Linked DNA regions of Homo sapiens: all the other regions are linked to region 5. Evidence: promoter capture Hi-C in 16 types of primary human blood cells and fetal thymus (Javierre and others, 2016). All regions are on one chromosome and are shown on one strand. Each heading gives the region's core, a stretch centred on a gene start or on the middle of the fragment in contact. The rest is flanking DNA. Distances are from core to core; before and after follow the strand shown. Region 1 overlaps PIWIL4-AS1 (PIWIL4 antisense RNA 1). Region 2 overlaps SRSF8 (serine and arginine rich splicing factor 8). Region 3 has its middle 5.3 kb from the start of KDM4F. Region 4 has its middle 2.3 kb from the start of FUT4. Region 5 holds the start of CCDC82 (coiled-coil domain containing 82). Region 6 overlaps PIWIL4 (piwi like RNA-mediated gene silencing 4). Region 7 overlaps ANKRD49 (ankyrin repeat domain 49).

What was found. Contacts are between HindIII fragments. The CHiCAGO score rates a contact against its expected background, and 5 or more counts as called.
Region 1: a fragment that was not itself captured here is called in contact with the fragment with the promoter of CCDC82 in region 5 in 1 of 17 cell types (fetal thymus); the score reaches 6.2 in fetal thymus.
Region 2: a fragment that was not itself captured here is called in contact with the fragment with the promoter of CCDC82 in region 5 in 2 of 17 cell types (erythroblasts and fetal thymus); the score reaches 5.6 in erythroblasts.
Region 3: a fragment that was not itself captured here is called in contact with the fragment with the promoter of CCDC82 in region 5 in 1 of 17 cell types (total B cells); the score reaches 6.5 in total B cells.
Region 4: a contact is called between a fragment that was not itself captured here and the fragment with the promoter of CCDC82 in region 5, in 1 of 17 cell types (fetal thymus). The highest score is 7.2, in fetal thymus.
Region 6: a fragment that was not itself captured here is called in contact with the fragment with the promoter of CCDC82 in region 5 in 1 of 17 cell types (monocytes); the score reaches 5.7 in monocytes.
Region 7: a contact is called between a fragment that was not itself captured here and the fragment with the promoter of CCDC82 in region 5, in 7 of 17 cell types (fetal thymus, naive CD8 T cells, total CD8 T cells and 4 more). The highest score is 16.1, in fetal thymus.

Annotation. Positions count from the first base shown.
Region 1 is chr11:94,622,471-94,625,170 of GRCh38, forward strand. All of the region lies in intron 4 of PIWIL4-AS1 (PIWIL4 antisense RNA 1), which reads right to left. Among named protein-coding and RNA genes, the nearest start is that of LINC02700, 14 kb to the right of the region's middle. The HindIII fragment of the contact is 576 bases long and covers 1,102-1,677 here.
Region 2 is chr11:95,071,135-95,073,834 of GRCh38, forward strand. It overlaps SRSF8 (serine and arginine rich splicing factor 8), which reads left to right. Exons shown (of 1, transcript NM_032102.4): 1 at 1-91. Among named protein-coding and RNA genes, the nearest start is that of SRSF8, 5.6 kb to the left of the region's middle. The HindIII fragment of the contact is 5,025 bases long and covers 1-2,700 here.
Region 3 is chr11:95,053,361-95,056,060 of GRCh38, forward strand. No RefSeq gene overlaps it. Among named protein-coding and RNA genes, the nearest start is that of KDM4F, 5.3 kb to the left of the region's middle. The HindIII fragment of the contact is 3,470 bases long and covers 1-2,700 here.
Region 4 is chr11:94,540,266-94,542,965 of GRCh38, forward strand. No RefSeq gene overlaps it. Among named protein-coding and RNA genes, the nearest start is that of FUT4, 2.3 kb to the right of the region's middle. The HindIII fragment of the contact is 1,891 bases long and covers 448-2,338 here.
Region 5 is chr11:96,388,662-96,391,361 of GRCh38, forward strand. It overlaps CCDC82 (coiled-coil domain containing 82), which reads right to left and starts at 1,251. Exons shown (of 10, transcript NM_024725.4): 1 at 1,183-1,251. It overlaps JRKL (JRK like), which reads left to right and starts at 1,352. Exons shown (of 2, transcript NM_001261833.2): 1 at 1,352-1,412; 2 at 1,822-2,700. The coding sequence starts at 1,989. RefSeq lists a silencer at 1,165-1,424. The HindIII fragment of the contact is 1,223 bases long and covers 809-2,031 here.
Region 6 is chr11:94,602,724-94,605,423 of GRCh38, forward strand. PIWIL4 (piwi like RNA-mediated gene silencing 4) reads left to right here. Exons shown (of 20, transcript NM_152431.3): 13 at 1,261-1,333. The region is part of intron 4 of PIWIL4-AS1 (PIWIL4 antisense RNA 1); the gene reads right to left. Among named protein-coding and RNA genes, the nearest start is that of LINC02700, 34 kb to the right of the region's middle. RefSeq lists an enhancer at 184-403. The HindIII fragment of the contact is 3,104 bases long and covers 1-2,700 here.
Region 7 is chr11:94,495,514-94,498,213 of GRCh38, forward strand. ANKRD49 (ankyrin repeat domain 49) reads left to right here. Exons shown (of 3, transcript NM_017704.3): 2 at 1,091-1,438; 3 at 2,558-2,700. The coding sequence starts at 1,181. It also overlaps a transcript of MRE11 not described here. Among named protein-coding and RNA genes, the nearest start is that of ANKRD49, 2.9 kb to the left of the region's middle. The HindIII fragment of the contact is 1,925 bases long and covers 344-2,268 here.

The DNA of each region.
Region 1 (2,700 bases), core at 140-2,639, 1.8 Mb before region 5:
TTGCACTGAAAATATTCTTTTCCTATTTGAGAGTTTTGTCCAGACATAGTAGAAATGCACCCAACAGGGGTCTACCAATAATAGGATAACCATTTTGTGAAGCATGAGGGTGGAGGGGACTTAATAAGTTTCAGGGCCAGTGCCATGCCTACATATACACATTTAATCTCCACAAGAACTGTATAAATTAGGTTATAATGACCATTTCAGATGGTAAAGCTGGGGATTAAAGATACCACGTGACTCACTGAAGTTTATGAGATTAATAAATTGTGGAGCTAGAATTTGTCCTCAGGTTTGTTTGCAAAACCTGTAAGATGAACCAAAAGAGTCTACACCCTTGATAAAAGATACTCTAAGATTTAAAAAATTTCTCCCAGAGCACTAATGTGAGGTAGTGCCTTATGGGATTTAAAGATGGCATTATATGGCGGGCACCTGTAGTCCCAGCTACTCGGGAGGCTGAGGCAGGAGAATGGCGTGAACCCGGGAGGCAGAGCTTGCAGTGAGCCGAGATTGCACCACTGCACTCTAGCCTGGGACGACAGAGCAAAACTCTGTCTCAGAAAAAAAAAAAAAAAAAAAAAAGATGGCATTATATAGCAAGTCTTTGGAGACAAGGCACTGATCCAATTCAAGGTGGTGGGTTTTGTTTTTGTTTATCTTGTTGTTTTCTTCCTTCAAAGTAGAACGGTGATATAAATCCCCACTACCTAACCAGCCAGCTTGTATAAATCCACACGAAACATTTTGATTAGGCAATACAACCTTCTGCAGAGCGCCCACCCACCCTTTTAAGTACTGCCCCAGGAAATGACTTCTTACCCCTTTAACCCACCAGAGGGCACACAAGGACTGCTGTGTGAATAGAGTCCTTCATCATGGCAGTGTCATAGGCTTCAACAAACAATTTCAGGTAAACTCCTAGAGGGCAACATGGGACTAAGAAATCTTCATATGAGCTCTGGTTCCAGCACGTTTGGTTGTCAGATGTGATAACTTCACTTTCTGGGACTCAGTTACCCAATCTGTAATATGAGAGGGCTTGGACAAGACCAGTGGTGCCTAATCTTGAGAAGATTAGAAGTTCCCATGTTTAAAAGCTTTAGAACAAAAAAATAGAGATGCCTGGGTCTACCTCTCAAAATAGTGATTTAAATGGTCTGAGATGGGGCCTGATCATCCGAATATTTTAAAAGTTCTCGAAATGGTTCTGATGTTCAGCCAGGGCTGAGGAATACTGGTTTAGATAATATATGAGACCTATTTCAGCTTCACGTTATGTGATTGCCACCTCTCACATGCATTAATTAGTTTTCCTTAGGCTACCAAGGACAAAGAGGAAAGGGAGCCTGTGCCAGGCTTCAGAGCAGCACTGGATTTGAATCCTAGAACCACCACTTATAGTCGTGTGACATTGGGCAAGTTACTTAACCTCTCTGAGCCTCAGTGTATCTACTTGTAAAAATGTCTAACAATGTCTGCATTGTAGAGTTATTGTAAGGATTAGAAATGTCAAATCTGAAGTATCTGGCCTTAATAAAGGGTATCATCTTATTAGACCTGAGGAGAGGAAATGAATCAAATGGCACAATTTAGTTAACAAATAGTTATGGGTTTCTATTATGTGCCAGGCACTGTACTAGATTCTGAATTCTACAATTCTACTTAAGGGAAAGCTTAATATTGTCTCTAGAAATAAACAATCTACCAGTTCCTATTTTATAGAAAGGATTTTGTAGTTTTTCTTTTATTTTGAGAACTGAGGGAGAGACTCTGGAAGAAAGTATACTTTAAATACATTTCTGTGGCCACCATGGAGTGGCCCATCAGATTATCCTTTAAAAGAACCTTCTGCAAGGAGCATAGTTGGCTGACAGCCTCTAAATGCTACAGCTTCAGGATCCACCACAGGGGTGATGAGACCATACCCTCCCCAGACTGATTCTAGCCCATTACTGAGCACAGGAGAGGTAATAGATCTGGGTTGTTTCTGCCCAACATGGGACTCCACTATTAGTCTCTGATAGGTAATATGCTGTGTTTAGCTCTGTGTCCCCACCCAAAGCTTATGTTGAATTGTAATCCCCATGTGTTGGAGGAGTGGCCTGGTGAGAGGTGATTAAACCGTGAGGGTGGATTGCCCCCTTGCTGTTTTCATGATAGTGAGTGAGTTCTTACCATATCTCGTTGTTTGAAAATGTGTAGCACTTCCCCCTTCTCTCTCTCTCTCTCTCCTGCTGCCATGTGAAGATGTCCTTGCTCCCTTTTTGGCCTTCTGCCATGATTGTAAGTTTTTTGAGGCCTCCCCAGCCATGCCTCCTGCACAGCCTGTGGAACTGTGAGTCAATTAAATCTCTTTTCTTTTTCTTCATAAATTACCCAGTCTCAGGTAGTTCTTTACAGCAGTGTGAGAATAGACTTAACACAGTAGGGGAACCCACTTTGTCTTGACCAAGGTTTTCTAAGAACTGCACTAAAGTTTTGAGCTTTTTCTACTGATCCTCTTTCCTTCCCACTCCGTTTCATGTATTTCAGATTAGCACTGAGGTCTTAAGGCCCTCCCTAGTCACTCCTACTTCCTCTCACCAGTATTCTTCACAGGTGTTTCTCCCAGTAAATCTTCTGAATGCTTAATTCTGTCTTGGTGTGTGCTTCTTAAGGGACCCAAACTGACACAACTTTCTTCCCTATTAAATG
Region 2 (2,700 bases), core at 117-2,616, 1.3 Mb before region 5:
TTGTTGCATGTGGCTGAGTTTATTTTTGATGCTGTGTAGTGTTTTACTAATTAATAAATCATAATTCAGTTTTTACTGTTCTATTGATGGACATCTGGGTTGTTTCCTATTTTAGTTATTCTGAATAAGGAAGCAATGAATATTTTTATACATAAAACCTGATGTACACGTGTATATATATTTCAGGTATCAATCCCAAAAGTGCATTTTCTGGGTTATAGATCAAGTACATATTCAATTTTGTTAGATAATTTTCAACTATTTTCCAAAGTAGTTCTACCAATATATACTATTATCATCAATTGATGAGAATTCTACTTGCTCCACATCCTCATTAACACTTGTTAACGTCAGACCTTTTAATATTTGCAAATCTGATGGGTATATAGTGGTATTTCATTTGGTTTTAATTTTCTTTACCCTGATTACCAAAAGGTTGTAGCTTTTTATTTGTTTGTTTTTTAGCCACTTGGATATCCTCCTTTGTGAAGTGCCTTTTCAATAATTTGTCCACCTTCCTATTGGGTCACCTGTCTTTTCTTAACAATTTAAAGGTATTTTCTATGTATCTGGATCTTATTTGTCTTTATGCCCTATAAATATATTTTCCCATTCTGTGGCTTGTTTTTTAATTCACTTTATGATGTCTTTTGATGAGTTATTTTTACACTAATGTAGCTAAATTCTTCAAACATTTTGTGGTTAGTGTTTTATATGTCTTGTTTTCTAATTTGAAGCAGTAAAGATAGTTTCATATATTATTTCCTATACTCAGTATAGTATTGTCTTTCAGCATTTAGTACTTTAACACAACTGAAATTGATTTTTGTGCATGTGGTGAGGTAAAAATCTAACATAATTTTTTTCCTACTTGGATATCAATTTTTAAAGCACTATTTATTGAAAACTCCTTTCCTATCCAATCTGCCACCTCTACCATATATTAGTATCCATACTGGGTAAGTTTACTTCTGGATTCACTATTTATTTCTATTGAGATATATACATATACATATACATACTGTGTATGTGTATATATACATGTATACACATACATATACATATATAAAGATGTAGATATATATAGAAGATATAAAAGATATATAGTCTGTAATATATAACATATATATAATTTTATGTAAATAGAATATATATAAAGTCTAAAATATATTTTATTTATATTTCATATATATTATGTATACTTATATATAATATATAAATATATAATGTAATTATGTATTATATATATAGAGAGAGAGACAGGCAGAGACAGAGACAGAGAGAGACAGAATCTTGCTCTGTTGCCCAGGCTGGAGTGCAGTGGTGTGATCTTGGCTAACTGCAGCCTCGACTTTTTGGGCCCAAGTCATCATCTCACTTCAGCCTCCCAAGTAGCTGGGACTACAGGCACACACCACCACATCCAGCTAACTTTTGTATTTTTTATGGAGATGAGGTTTTGCCATGTTGCCTAGACTGGTCTTGAACTCCTGAGCTCAAGTGATCTGTCCGCCTTGGCCCCTATTAGTATGTTTTTTCCATGCCTGCACCTAATACTGTCTTAATTACTTCAGCTTTATAATAAACCTTGATATCTAATAAAGCAAGTTCTCTCATCTTGTCTTCATCAAGAGTGGCTTAGCTATTCTTGGTGTTCCTCTTCCAGGAGAAGTGGATAACAAGATGAGATACTGAAAGTTCTACCCCTTGAACGGTTTTTCCCTTCTCCAGAATTGCTCAGGGACATACTGTGTAGGTTATAATGCCACCATGACCCATGCTAATGGTTGTAGCCACTTATGCACAGCCATTTGTAACTGAGCTTGATAATTTTACTTCCTCAATCAATTGCTTACCAGAGAATTCCCTACAAGGCTATATGTGAAGACTGGAAGAGGATAGCAGAGTGGCAAGAGCAGGCATACTGGGGACTATAAGTCACCTGCTTATGTGATTTACTTGTGTCTTCAGAACATGTCCCATCTTGGTCATTTCAGTCTTATTTCTGCTTGAGGGCAGAGAGCTGGCAGGTGTGACTCACTTTGTGTCTTGTTAGGTCAGTCATCACCCAGCTCATGATGGGAGGCTCAGGTCATATGCTCACCTATGGTCAAGTTTTTTTTATCTCTGCCAGGGCCCAAGAGCAAGTGAAGAGCTTCCAATGGAGAACTGTCATTTACTCAAGAGGAGAGTTATCTACTAAATACAGCATGGATTTGCTTCAGAAACCCAGAACAGTGGTTCTCAAACAGAAATGTACATTTGAATCCTGTGGGGATCATGTTAAAATGCAGATTTCAATTCAGTGAGTTTGGTCTGGGGCCTGAGATTCTGCATGTTTAATAAAATCCCAGGTATTGTCAGGGCTGCTGGTCATGGACCATTCTTTAAGTAGCAAGGATGTAGAAAACTCCATTGTGATTCTCCTGTGGGAACTTGATATGAAACATCAGTGTTTCTCAAAGTGTCCTTCCCCTCCTTGCAACAGCAGAATCAGTATCACCTGGAAACGTGTTAGAAAATTCCAGAATTGGTGAGGCCAATTCTAGGGCCTCACTTCCCAGACCTACCAAATTAGAAACTCTAAGATAGGACTCAGCAATCTGGTTTAACAAGCTCCCCAGGTGATTCTAATATGCACTAAAGTTTGAAAACCACTGTTCTCCATAGGTTGCTGGTTCTCAACCAATTAAATCAGTA
Region 3 (2,700 bases), core at 33-2,532, 1.3 Mb before region 5:
GATGATTTAGGGTATCTGGCAGAAGGAATTTTTAAGCAGCAAAGAGTTTAAGATCTGGCCTGTCTGCTTCTAACAGCCTAGGCTCACATTCATGAACAAAGAAATGACCTGAAAGTGGAACTTATATCCAGTTCCAGTGAAGCAGAGTACAAAAGGGCAGCAAAATGTAAAAGTTCAAGGAATTTGCAGCCTGGCCATGTAGCAGAAGAGAAAAGCACATTTTTAGGGGAAGAATTCAAGCTGGCTGCAGAAATGTACATCACTAAAAGGAAGACAAGTATTAGTAGCCAAAATATTAAGAAAAACATCTTGAAGGCATATCAGAGACCTTCGTGGCAATGCTTCCCATCACAAGCCTGGATGTCTAGGAGGACAGAATGGTTTTGTGGACCATGCTTAGAGCCCTGCTGTCCTGTACAGCCTGTGGACACTGCTGCCTGCATCCCAGTTGCTCCAGCTCTAGCTGTGGCTCAAGGGGCCCAGGTAGAGCTCAGACCATTTCTTCAGAGTGTGAAAGCCATAAGCCTTGGAGGCTTCCACGTGGTGTTAAGTTCAAGGGTGCACAGAATGCTAGAATTGAGGGTTGAGAGCTTCTGCTTAGATTTCAGAGGATGTATGGAAAAGCCTGCATGTGCAGGCAGGAGTCTGCTGCAGGGGCAAGGGTCTCACAGAGAACCTCCACTATAGCGGTACAGAGCAGAAATGTGAGGTTGGAACCCCCACACGGAGTCCCCACTGGGTACTGCCTAGCAGAGTTGTGAGAAAAGGATCACTTTCCTCCAGATCCCTGAATGGTAGACCAACCAGCAGTTTCCACCCTACTTCTGGAAAAGCTGCAGGCACTTAACACAAGCCCATGAGGGCAGCTGCAGGGGCTGAACCCTGCAAAGACACAGGAGCACAGCTATGCAAGTCCTTGGGAGTACACACCATGCACTATTGTGCTCTGGATATGAGACGTGGAGTCCAAGGAGCCTATTTTGGAAGTATAAGATTTAATGTCTGCCCTGCTAGGTTTCAGACTTGCTTGGGGTCTCTAGCTTCTTTCTTTTGGCCGATTTCTCCCTTTTGGAACAGGAGTCTTTACCCAATGCCTGTACCCCCACTCTATCTTGGAAGTAATTAACTTGTTTTTGATTTTACAGGCTTATAGTCAGAAGGGATTTGCCTTGTCTCAGATGAGACTTTGGACTTTGGACATTTCCGTTAATGCTGAAATGAGTTAAGACTTTGGGGAACATTTGAGAAGGCATGATTATATGTTGCAATGTGAGAAGGGCATGAGATTTAGGAGGGGGCCAGGGGAGGATTGATATGGTTTGGGTCTGTGTCCCCACTCAAATCTCACATAGAATTGAAATCCTCAGTTTTGGAGGTGGGCTCTGGTGGGAGGTGATTTGCTTGTAGCGGTGGTTTCTCATGAATGGTTCAGCACCATCCCCCTAGTGCTGTTCTTGTGATAGAGTTCTCACAAGATCTTGTTGTTTAAAAGTGTGTAACACCTCCCGCCGGCCTTCCTCCTGCTCCCACCATGAAAGATGTGCCTACTTCCCCTTTGCCTTCCATCATGATTGTAGGTTTCCTGAGTCCTCCCCCAAACCAGACACTGCTATGCTTCCTGTACAGTCCACAGACCTGTGAGCCAATTAAACCTCTTTTCTTTATAAATTACCTGGGTATATTCTTTATAGCAAAGTGAGAATGAACTAATATAGACACCTTATTCATCCAAGCCAGAAAAAATAGAGAAACCTAAGGATATGAAAAACTTAGATAACATTAACAATAAGGTAGAATTGACAAACCAGATGATAGAAAATACTTCCTCTCTTCAGGTGCTGTTGACAGCTGTTGTGATACCTCTGGTTCTTCTTAGTTTAAAATAAATTAAACAAGAGACATACAGCAAAAGAAGAACAGCATAGAGTAATTTATTGTGAAAGAAAAATAATATTTTGAAAGTTAAGTGCAGAATAGACTGTACACACTGAGAGTGAAGGAATTCAGGGAGGGCTGCTTGTTAGGGTGAGACAGCATTGATTATTGCTGGAGAAACCCCCATTATGGGAGTTTTACATGGTTATTCATAAGGAGGTGGTAACAGGTGTTACTAGTAAGCAGGTCCTGATGGTCTTCTGTACATGTACAGTAGCTGTACATGCTTATTCATACATCCCATGTCTCATTAGCATCTTAAATCTCCACCCATGGGTGTGTTTTTTACTATTGTAATGAGCAAAAGATCAGTTTGAGGACAGGTAAAATCAAAATGTGCATGCTCTCTGGAAGGGAAAGTCCCTACTAAAGATAGCTTTGCTTGAGTGAGCTCGGTTACAATATGACTGCTAAGGCTTATTGTATTGGCTCTATGGTCACCACGGTCACTGCATCCCAAGTATATGTCAGGTCCTTGACAACCTATCCTGCCAAAGAATCAATCACAAAATTTGACAATATATCAGTGTGAATAGAAAATATCAATATCTTCTTTAAACAAAATGAAAAAAATTCAAACATTCTGAATTATCATGCAATAAAATTTGAAATATTTTTGAAAGTCAGAAAATGTACAGGTCCTTTTCCTGGTAGGTTAAATTTTTTTATTGAATGGATCTCAGATTTGAGGGAAGCACAAATCATAAAAGCCAAATTTCCACAAAACAATAAATATCTATTAAGAATATGAACTGTAGAGCAAGA
Region 4 (2,700 bases), core at 143-2,642, 1.8 Mb before region 5:
AAAGAATCATTTGTTACCAAATGTAAAAGAATCATGGACTATTCTTCCATGTTCGAAATCTAAGATGATTCAGAGTTCATTTAGTCCAGCCTCTTCATTGTAAGAATAGTAATATCTCCTTCCACATGGGTAGCAGACATGTTTTTGCCCACCTAGCATCCTTTCCCTCTTTTTCAGGTAACACCACCTCATTTTTTCTTTTGGGTAACTTCTCTCCCCGCACTGTTATTCAAGAATAACAGATTATTCCACATCTGTTATTCAGATGGGACTGATTCTAGCTCCAGAGGAGGGTCTAAAGAGAGTACCCATTCCCTGACCACAGTGATTGCTTCAAGAATGAGCACTCATCCCAGGTTTGGCCAATGACAGCAGTCTAATTTGATATCATTTCTGATGCCTGTTGCCAGGACTATGCTTAATACATGTACAATATTTTCCACTGAAAGCTTAAGGGACATTTCAAGGTCATAGCAAGTCATTCACATAGCCAAGATCTCCGGATGTCTTCTCATTTTGTAGTGGGGAAAGAGATACCAACAGATAATTTCGGTGATACATTAAGGGCATACATTCATTCAACAAATATTCACTACTAGAAACCTGGTTCCGTGGTGGGTGTTCAGGATGGAATTATGAATGAAACAGTCATGATCTCTGGATGTCCCATGATGTTCTGAAAGGTGCAGCATGTGTGAGAGTGCACAGGAGGGCCATGTAAACTACCCTGGATATATGTTTGTGGGTATCCAGAAAGGCTTCCCAGAGAAAGAAACCAGCCTCCTAAATCTCTCTGAATCTATCCTCCTTTAATTTTCTTCCTCATCCTCACAGCTACTGTCTCAGTTCAGGCCCTCTTTATTTCACATCTGAATTACAGCAATAACTTTCCAACTGCACACCACCACACCCCTACTCTTACCCTATTTTTACCCAACTCACTCTTTACTAATGACAGAATGATTTTTTCTTAGAAACTTTTTTCTAAAGTATAATGTCCACCCATAAAAGTACATATGTAAGCATACAGTTTGATGAACTTCCATAACCAAACACACCCATTAACCAGAGCCTACATTAACAGTCAGCATTCCGCAGCCCCCCCGTGTCCCCATCCATATACTCACCCTCCTTATACGTAATAAAAATAAGAATTCATTTTAAAAATGAATATCGCTTCCTTCCTTTGTTAAAGCCTTCCAAGGACTTTCTCGACAGCCTGCAGGATAAACACCATCTCCTTCGCCAAACTATACCCTAGTAATTCCTCGCCTACTGCCCCAGTCTTCCCTCCCTGGCCTCTGCAGTGCTGCTCCCTCTGTGGCAACTAACACCTCAGCCCTCTTCCTCTGCATTGTAATGATTCCTAATTATTCCAGGAGCCACCTCCTCAAAGCCTTCCATGATCCCTTCCCTCCCCACTATCTGTTTCTCTCGTAGATTTTTGAAGGTAGAAACCGTGTTTTGCATTTGTTTCCCAATTTGTTAAATGAACAAGTGAGTAAATTTATTAATTTCCCATAACTCCTTTCCTCCCTTTCCTTCTCCTCTACCCTACCAATGGCTCTTTTAAAATAAGAACAATCCAGTCCCCTGTGAATGTTTGTGCATGTATGAGATGCACAATGATCACGTATGACCTTCAACCAGCAATTTGCGAAGTCACGACTGGTTTCCATTCATCCAGACACACCTTACTACCTAGTATCCCCTCCTCCCACATCAAATAAGGGTATAGTAGGGGCAGTTTGTGGTCTCAACCCTACCGAGGTAAGAGGGCACAAAGAAAATTGATATGCATGAGACCTCGGGCATTCTTCAGGTAAAAAGATGGCTTAATTGGAACATTCGGAGGCTTAAGAGAAAATCGGGAGTGGTGGAAGGAAGCAATCAAGCAGGGTAATATTTCCCAAATGCCTACCGGCCACGTGCCAGACACAATGTTAGGCTCTATCTGTGATGTCTTATTTAACTGAAGAGGGAGAAGAATGTGAATAAATGGCTGGATTCTTGAATTGCATAAAAAGAGAAGCCAATACACTTTTTCCTTTATTTCGTTTAAACAAGTAATTTGTGCATTTATAGCTTTTTCTTTTAATTAAAAGTAAGAGTGGAAAAAAGTCACTGAAATGTCTAATTTCAAATAAAATATTTGATTTCTAATTTCTGTTTTTCAAACAAACAAAAAACCCCAGAAGCATTATGAAAGGTTTTACTGTGCAGGAGGAAATGTTACTAGGTTGATGGGCCTAGCCAGAACACCTAACATCCTCCATCTAGTCTCCAAACTGAGGCTGTGGCCCTGCAGAGAGCGCCACCCGGAAGCCACTTTTATAGAAGCTTTTACACACAATGCTTGATTTTTTTTTTTTTTTTTCCGAGACGGAGTCTCGCTTTGTCGCCCAGGCTGGAGTGCAGTGGCGCGATCTGGGCTCACTGCAAGCTCCGCCTCCTGGGTTGACGCCATTCTCCTGCCTCAGCTTCCCGAGTAGCTGGGACTACAGGCGCCCGCCACCAAGCCTGGCTAATTTTTTTTTATTTTTAGTGGAGACAGAGTTTCACCGTGTTAGCCAGGATGGTCTCGATCTCCTGACCTCGGGATCCGCCCGCCTCGGCCTCCCAAAGTGCTGGGAGTATAGGCGTGAGCCACCGCGCCTGGCCTATACTTGATTTTTAATGAAAACATTCTTAAATTCATAT
Region 5 (2,700 bases), core at 1-2,500:
CTCAAGAAAAGATTCATTCTAGAAATCACCTACTTGCTGTATAAACAATGCAGGTGGTAGTTAACACTTTACAGATTTGAAAGGCAGTGGAACCCCAGGTCATTATTTGAAATTCTACCAGGAGGGATCCATTCTTGGGTGTAAAACATCACTCCTCTTCGATGTTTTCTTTTATATGGCAGTTTGGAGAGCAAAGATTAATAAGCCGAAAAATAATTATTGAATATCTACCAAAATGCAAGCACCTGCTAGGAACTGTGCTGCCACCATTTCAAATAAACATGGTCTCTGCTCCCAAGGAGCTCACAATCTGATGAAATTACTAGGGACACCAAAAACAAGCCAGCATAATACACGATTTGAGGGCTACAGTGTATGATTAAGATCAAGTTCTTATCACACTGCTATGAATAAATTTATCATAGTTCTTCTATTGGCAGGAAAACAAGACAGAACATGACAGAAATAGGATATAAGAAAATAAACATAAAGAGAGGAAAGCCTATTTCCCCCACTTAGAATCACAGTCCAACAGTCCACAATTTCGCAAAGTGGATCCTGCCAGCATGGTATCCGGGATAACTATATTATTCATTAAAATCCGTTAACAATGAAGGTTAATGCAGCAGGAATGAGTGGTAGACAGTGGAATAGATCCTCTCAGGAATTAACACCCGGAAGGGTGACTTTCATGATTACAAACCTCTTTGGCGGGACGCAGGAACCCAGCGCCCGCTAGCCCACTAGTCCGTCACTCTGCCTCCAGGAGGGAGGGGCACAGTAGCTAGGAAACCGGACCCTCAGGCCAAGCTTCGCGATGACGCGCGCAGGACGACGGAAACCCCCAGACCCCAAAAGAGCTCTGCACCGAGAAAACAATTACAAGGGTCTGGAAAGGCCAGAAACCCGAGAAATCACCAACCGAGCTCCCTACATCAGTTCCAAGCACCTCCCCAAGGCGGAAATAACGGGCACCGCGCCCACTGCAGCTCAGCTGAGGAGGGTTAGAGGCGCAAAGGGCTGAGGGGCGTTCTCCGGCCCACCCAAAGAGCGCCCGCGGGAATTTTTCTCTTAGTCCGCGAGGAGGCACGGCTTCCCCCGCCCCTCTCATAAACCATTAGCACCGGGAGCGCGAGCGAGTCCCAGCCGGGAGACAGCCCCGCACCGCCCTCGCGCTCTCACCTTTCAAAGCGCCTCCACCTCTGCCTCCGCCTCCGCCCCTGCCCCGGCAACCAGCTCAGGACAAGCGATGCTCCTCCCCCCCTTCCGGGGACCAAGGGAAGTCCCGCCTCTGGGTGGGGCGAGGGGTGGGGCCAGGCGGCGGGAGGGATCATCTTCCGGGAGCGTGGCTAGGGGCGGAGCGACTGCCGCGCGATAGTCAGGGAGCTGTGCGGGTCCTGGTTGCAAGAGAGGTGGGGAGAGGGGCCTGGCGGGTTTTGAGGGACTGGGAGGACTGTCCCGGCTAAAGCTGGCGCGGGAAACTGGGGCTGCGCGGCGGGAGGGCCCTGCTGCTGGGGAAGGAATCTAATATATCCGTTCCCCTGAGGAAGGGTGCCAGTCCTTGACTCCTAGGCTCTTCGGCTCTCTGTCGTAACTTTGGGGTGTGGCAGGGGTTAGTGACGCGCGGTTACCCGGGATCTGGACGTGCAGGAGGTTCGTGGCCACAATGGGGGTATAGTCTTTCTCACGGCTGCTGGGGTAATAAAACACATGCTTTTAATCCGGATTATCCGCGGTGACATGGGGCCTCCGCTACTGCCCGTATAAGTTAAAGAAAGGCCTGTTCTCTCAAACTTCCTCCTCTTTCACCTTCTTCTGCAGTCTATTTGCCAGCCAACCCCAGCCCGGGAGGGGATCAGGGCCACCAGGTTGCTGGTAAGGATGAAAGACTGAGTGTGTTAAGACTGTTGAAGTGAGCCTGTGTAAGAGAAGGAAGGATTTTGTGGATTGCTACATTGTGAGTGTGGGGTGAGTCCCAGAACCTCGCTATGTCAGGGAAACGGAAGCGTGTGGTGTTGACTATTAAAGATAAGCTTGATATAATAAAGAAACTTGAAGACGGAGGTTCTTCCAAACAACTGGCAGTGATTTATGGAATTGGTGAAACAACAGTTCGGGATATAAGAAAAAATAAGGAAAAGATTATAACTTATGCAAGCAGTTCTGATTCCACAAGTCTTTTGGCCAAGAGGAAATCTATGAAGCCATCCATGTATGAGGAATTGGACAGGGCAATGCTGGAATGGTTCAACCAGCAAAGAGCAAAAGGGAATCCCATATCTGGACCAATTTGTGCAAAAAGGGCAGAGTTCTTCTTTTATGCTTTGGGAATGGATGGTGATTTTAACCCCTCTGCCGGTTGGCTAACTCGTTTTAAGCAGCGGCACAGCATTAGAGAGATTAACATTAGAAATGAAAGATTAAATGGAGATGAGACTGCGGTGGAAGATTTTTGTAATAACTTTCGAGATTTTATTGAACGAGAGAATTTACAGCCTGAACAAATCTACAATGCAGATGAAACTGGACTCTTTTGGAAGTGCTTGCCTTCTAGGATTTCAGTAATCAAAGGTAAATGCACTGTCCCTGGGCACAAATCAATTGAAGAAAGAGTCACAATCATGTGTTGTGCCAATGCAACAGGTTTACACAAACTTAAACTTTGTGTTGTGGGGAAAGCAAAGAAACCTCGCTCCTTTA
Region 6 (2,700 bases), core at 1-2,500, 1.8 Mb before region 5:
GAGTTATTCTTTAAACACATAGTTACTAATTAATTGCATCAGCAGCACAAGTATTAATCCCAAAGTCTCATTTAACACCATTGTTTAGAACTCTCCTCTTATCAAATCTGTTAATAAATAGCCTGGATTGAGTTTCACCCGCTCTACTTTCTCTAAACCCATGAGCTAATAAAGCAGGAAATGATTATGAAAGAAGCCACAGTCCGCAGATCCTGGGCTGACATCACAGGCTCTTTCTCATGTGAATTCTGGAACAAGCCCATTGCTATGTTCTGTCCTTGGCCTGTTTTATTTGAAAGCTCGTATTTTATTTCAACCTTCTTTTTTCCATGAAGTATCCATTTACCTGTTAGATTTATATGCATAGCTTCTGTCTTCTAAAACATTCACCTGATGATTTTAGGAGTGGACTGTAAGTGCAGCAGAGTCAGAGTGCGAGAGTTTGAATTGGATGAGTCAGGACCATCTAGTTGCTGAGACGGTTCGGCCAGCCAGTCACATAGGTCTGTTAGTATCTGCAGTCATGGGGTTGATGGTCCTGTCACCTGCTGGGCGAGTTTTAAAAAGCCGCTGGGCATTGGGACAGTTCACTTATATACACATAAAAGAGGCTGATTCTACATAAAGAAACTAGTTTTACAAATTCCTATGTGTGTGAGAATTACTTTTGGAGCTGCTGGCCCCTAACATAATGTAAGCACAGAACAGATAATTGTTAAGTACTTGTGCGCTGATTAAGGCTAGACATTCCAGGCTCCAGACAAGCAACCACTAAGGAAAATAAAGATATTTTTGTCTAAATCATGCAAATTAGCTGAATATCTTGGTCTCATTAACCTGATGTTTTCTGAAACATTCATTTTTAGATTCCTATAGCAATTCACTCTTACAGAAATCTTAATCCTGGTTGAGCTTGAACACTCTTTCAGACATTTGATACTGTGAGACTTGGGATTTCAAAAGTTCACTTTCAACCCCATTTTGAACAACAGAATTATTGATTATAGGGATTCTGGACAATTGAGAAGATCTGATTTTCTACCAAACCATTTTTTACACTGTAAAAATTATTGCGAAATGTTTTTGTCATATTTTGTAGTTTAAGAAACAATTTTAGACTCAAAAGGTTATTTTCTCTAATAATTTTTCCTAAAACTACTAGTTTGTTATGAAAATTTATTTGTATTATTTCTAATGCCATATAAGTATGTGCTACTAAGAAGGAAGTTACATAGCTTCAAAATTAATCTTTTTATGTAGCATAAAAGTACAAGAAAATCCAGCTGCATTTGTTAGAGCTATACAGCAATATGTTGATCCTGATGTTCAGCTGGTAAGTACAGGATACTTTTTGAACTCCTTTAATCTATAATTTTAGTTCTGCTTTATATCTACAGTCTGAACATACCCTCCCATGATATATTTGCAAATTGCCATGCATTTCTCCAAAGCACCGAAGAAAATATTAATCTTAGTATTTTAATCAATATTTTATTTCCTTTCCACATTTCTAATATTAATTTTAAAATACAGTACTTCTTGTTACCCCTATAACAGCCATTGGTGTCTGCATATTTTGCAACTCATTGGGGTCATCTTTTCCTTAAGATTTAAGATAAACTGACTCCCACCTCATCACATAAATGTTGGTATCCAGTGTTCCCTATATTTCAGGGGATTCTTGGAGGGTTAGGTTTTTCCAAGTGACCTATGGCCCCAAATTCCTGCTTCCTGTGAATTCTTGCCACCTTCTGTGCATTTCAGAGAGGACCACTTCCTCCGGTGCTGCATCACCTGGTGGGACATCCACAGTTGCCTCATTTCCCAAAGGGCATGTGTGTGTAGCTGACTTTGCAGACTGTTTGGGGCCAAGGCATGATTACATCACATCCCAACATTCCAGAAAAATTAGAATTGACATCCCTGTTCTTAAAAATCTTTCAACGATTCCTATTTCCCAGGAATGTTTACTCTTCTACCAGACCTCAGCACCCCCAGGCTATTGTAGGGCTTTTCCTGTCCATTCCATCTACCCTTCTTACCTCCCTCGCTCACTCAGTTCAACATCCAACATTCTTGTTGTTATGTCATGCAAACTAACTGAACTAGCTAAGTGCTATCTCTTTGCTTTTCTTTTAGTGAGTTTCTCTTTTACTCTAAAGGATCTTATATGAAACAGAGAATTCTCACCCTAAGAGCATTTATTTTTTACTTAAATCAAACTTATAGAAAAGTGACAAGAACAGTACAAACAACTCTCTCATATACCCTTCACCCAGAATCCCAAATTATTGACCTTTTACCATATTTGCTTTATTATTTTCTATCTTTTTTGCTGAACTATTTGAGCATAAGTTACAGGCATGATGCCCCAGTGCCCTTGACTATTTCAGTGCATATTTTCTATAAACAAGGTCTCTATCTTACAGAAGCATATGACAATCATCAAAATTAAGAAACAGTTTTCTTCATTTGTCTCAATTGTCACCTCTGTAGGAAAAGGCTCTACTGTCCTGCACTTAGTTGTCCAGTCTCTATAGTCTCTCCTTCAATCTGGAACAGCTCTTTAATTTTCCTTGACTCTGATGACCTTCCAATTTTGAAGAGTACAGACTAGTTATTTTGTATAACGTCCCTCGATTTGGGTTTGTCTGATGTCTCCTCATGATTAAATTCATGTTATGCACTTTTGGCAAGAGT
Region 7 (2,700 bases), core at 56-2,555, 1.9 Mb before region 5:
CATCAGAGAAGAGCCTTGAAAGACTGATTATATTTCAACAAATAGAGTTGAGAGGCTGGGAATTCGTATTTGTAAATTATCTATTGGTTATTCTCCTTTTCTTTAATTGATTAAGGTTTATATGTTGTGTAACCCTTTAAGCTGATATTGGTTTAAAAATTAATATGGCAGCTTAGCAGAATAAACATCAGTTCCTTCAGGAAGCCTTCTTTAATCCCTTAGGACTAGGGGAATTATGAACCTCCTGTATACTCATGGTTTCTAGACAAGGTCTTGTAGTAGTACTTATCATGTTGTCTTTGCCAGACACATGATGTCTTTGCCAGTCACCTACACTAGAGTAAGCTTCCTGAGGTGAAGACATGGATCTTGCTCATTATTGAATCCCAGTACCCAGAAGTTGGCACATACCAGACATTCTATTCATATTAGTTGAATGAAGGAATGAATGACAGCCAAAATTCAGTTGAAAACAAGGACCCAACTAAGAACTATAGTTGCCTATCAATAAACAGGACTACTTTTTAAAGCAGTGAATTTTCCTAGGCCTGAAATTATCAAAGTAGAAATAGGATAATTAGTGTAGATGCTGTGATAAAGATATATGTACCGATGACAGATTGGAACAGATGTCCTTTTGGGGGCTATTCCATCTTCAAGAATCCCTGATTCTTCGAAATAGTATTTTTAGGAATTAGAAGTTTTTATTTCTGCTCTATATTATCTGTGTGTCTAGTTTATAAAAATCTTGAATGCACCTGTCTTCATTGTATTAGTTATACTTCAAAACCTTTAAGCATTCATCACTGTTAGCATAACACCATCATACCTAAACCAGTAGATTAAAAATAATAGTTATAATAATATAATTGACTTAGAAGAAAACAACAAAAGTAAGAAGCATTAGACCACTATTAGATCATAGTTTGTTGTTTTCTGTCAGCATCAGTATTTAGTGTATGTAAGGGATATCATGAGAAAAACAAGAGTTTAGACAGGGTTTAATTGTATATGTTTGCAAGACTTATCTATGCAGTTGATAAAGCCTGAATTATTGTTTTACTAATAACTTTTGTATTTGTGTTTTCAGATCTTGATGAACAAAGCAGTCATAATTCATCTCTAGAAAGATTTATATCCTGGCATTTGAAATGCTTTTTATTTAGAATAGTAGTAAAAAATGGAAAAAGAAAAAGGAAATGATGATGGAATACCAGACCAAGAGAATTCCTTGGATTTTTCTGAACACTTTAACCAACTTGAATTGTTGGAAACACATGGACACCTTATTCCTACTGGTACTCAAAGTCTTTGGGTAGGCAATTCTGATGAAGATGAGGAGCAAGATGACAAAAATGAAGAGTGGTATCGATTGCAAGAAAAAAAAATGGAAAAAGACCCAAGCAGATTGCTTCTTTGGGCTGCTGAAAAAAATCGGGTAAAAAAAAAAATTACAGAGGGAAGTGTGACAGTAGGAAAAGCACTGGGTTCAAGCCAGAAGACCTGCCTTTACTGTTATGGCCATCATACCTATCTCTTGATTGTGAGGACCAAATGAGACAATGTACATGAAAGCACATATTAAGCTGCAAAGTGTCATGCTAGGTATTATTTGGGGGTTTAAGGATAATTATCTATAAAGATAGCAAGCAATCATCTATATTTTAAAATCATTTATATAAAGTCATTAGGATCATTTAGGAAAGAGAGGATGGAAACTAACATTTATTAAAAACTAACTATACCAGGTACCTTATTACATTATTTTATTTAATCATCATGTATCCCTATAAGTAATATTCTTCTCTTTTATAGAGTAAGAAATTGAGATTCAGGAATATTAATTTGCCCAGGATCATCGAAGTGGAATGAACATCAAAAGCCTATTCCCTCTGCTTGGCCACTTCCACCTCATTTTACTAAGTTTCCCCATGTCTGTGTTAGTAAACTAATAACTAAAAGGGTCTCGCATTTTAAATAGCTTTTTAACCCAAGAGCATGCCACATTTAACCAGAGGCCCATAGAACAAACTGAAAATTACAACCTAAAAGGTTGTTTCTAAGGTTGTATTGAGAAGGAATTGAGCTCTTGAATCCCTAGAATTCCTTATTAATACTTTATTCTTCTGTTAAAAGTTTTATTTTTAAAAGTTTCATACAGTGTGTATATTGGTGTGATAATCCTACAGAAAAATCAAGCAGTTATGTTTTCTTCACAGATAACACATAAAATATTAAACAGAAAGCCTATGTTATTCATTGGACTGAAGCTTTTATGCAATAAACCTTAGTTGGACCAGGAGTAAATGTATGGTTTGATATTCAGAGAATCTCATTCTTAGAAGCAACAAAGTGTAGTTAACACTAACTTGTTCATTCTTAAATCAGTAGTCCTCTCCTCCCCAAAAAGAGATCTTAAATTATTTTCATTTTAAAGTCATCTACTAACAAGTAAGTTTTTATTCAACTTAATTAAATCTAACACCACAAGACAATTTTGTTTTAGTTATTGTTTTGGTTTGAGTTGAGTTGAAAGATTTCTTTTTTTTCTTCTCAGCTTACCACAGTGCGGAGACTCCTTTCTGAAAAGGCCACTCACGTGAACACTAGGGATGAAGATGAGTATACCCCTCTTCATCGAGCAGCCTACAGTGGACACTTAGATATTGTTCAGGAGCTCATTGCACAGGGGGCCGATGT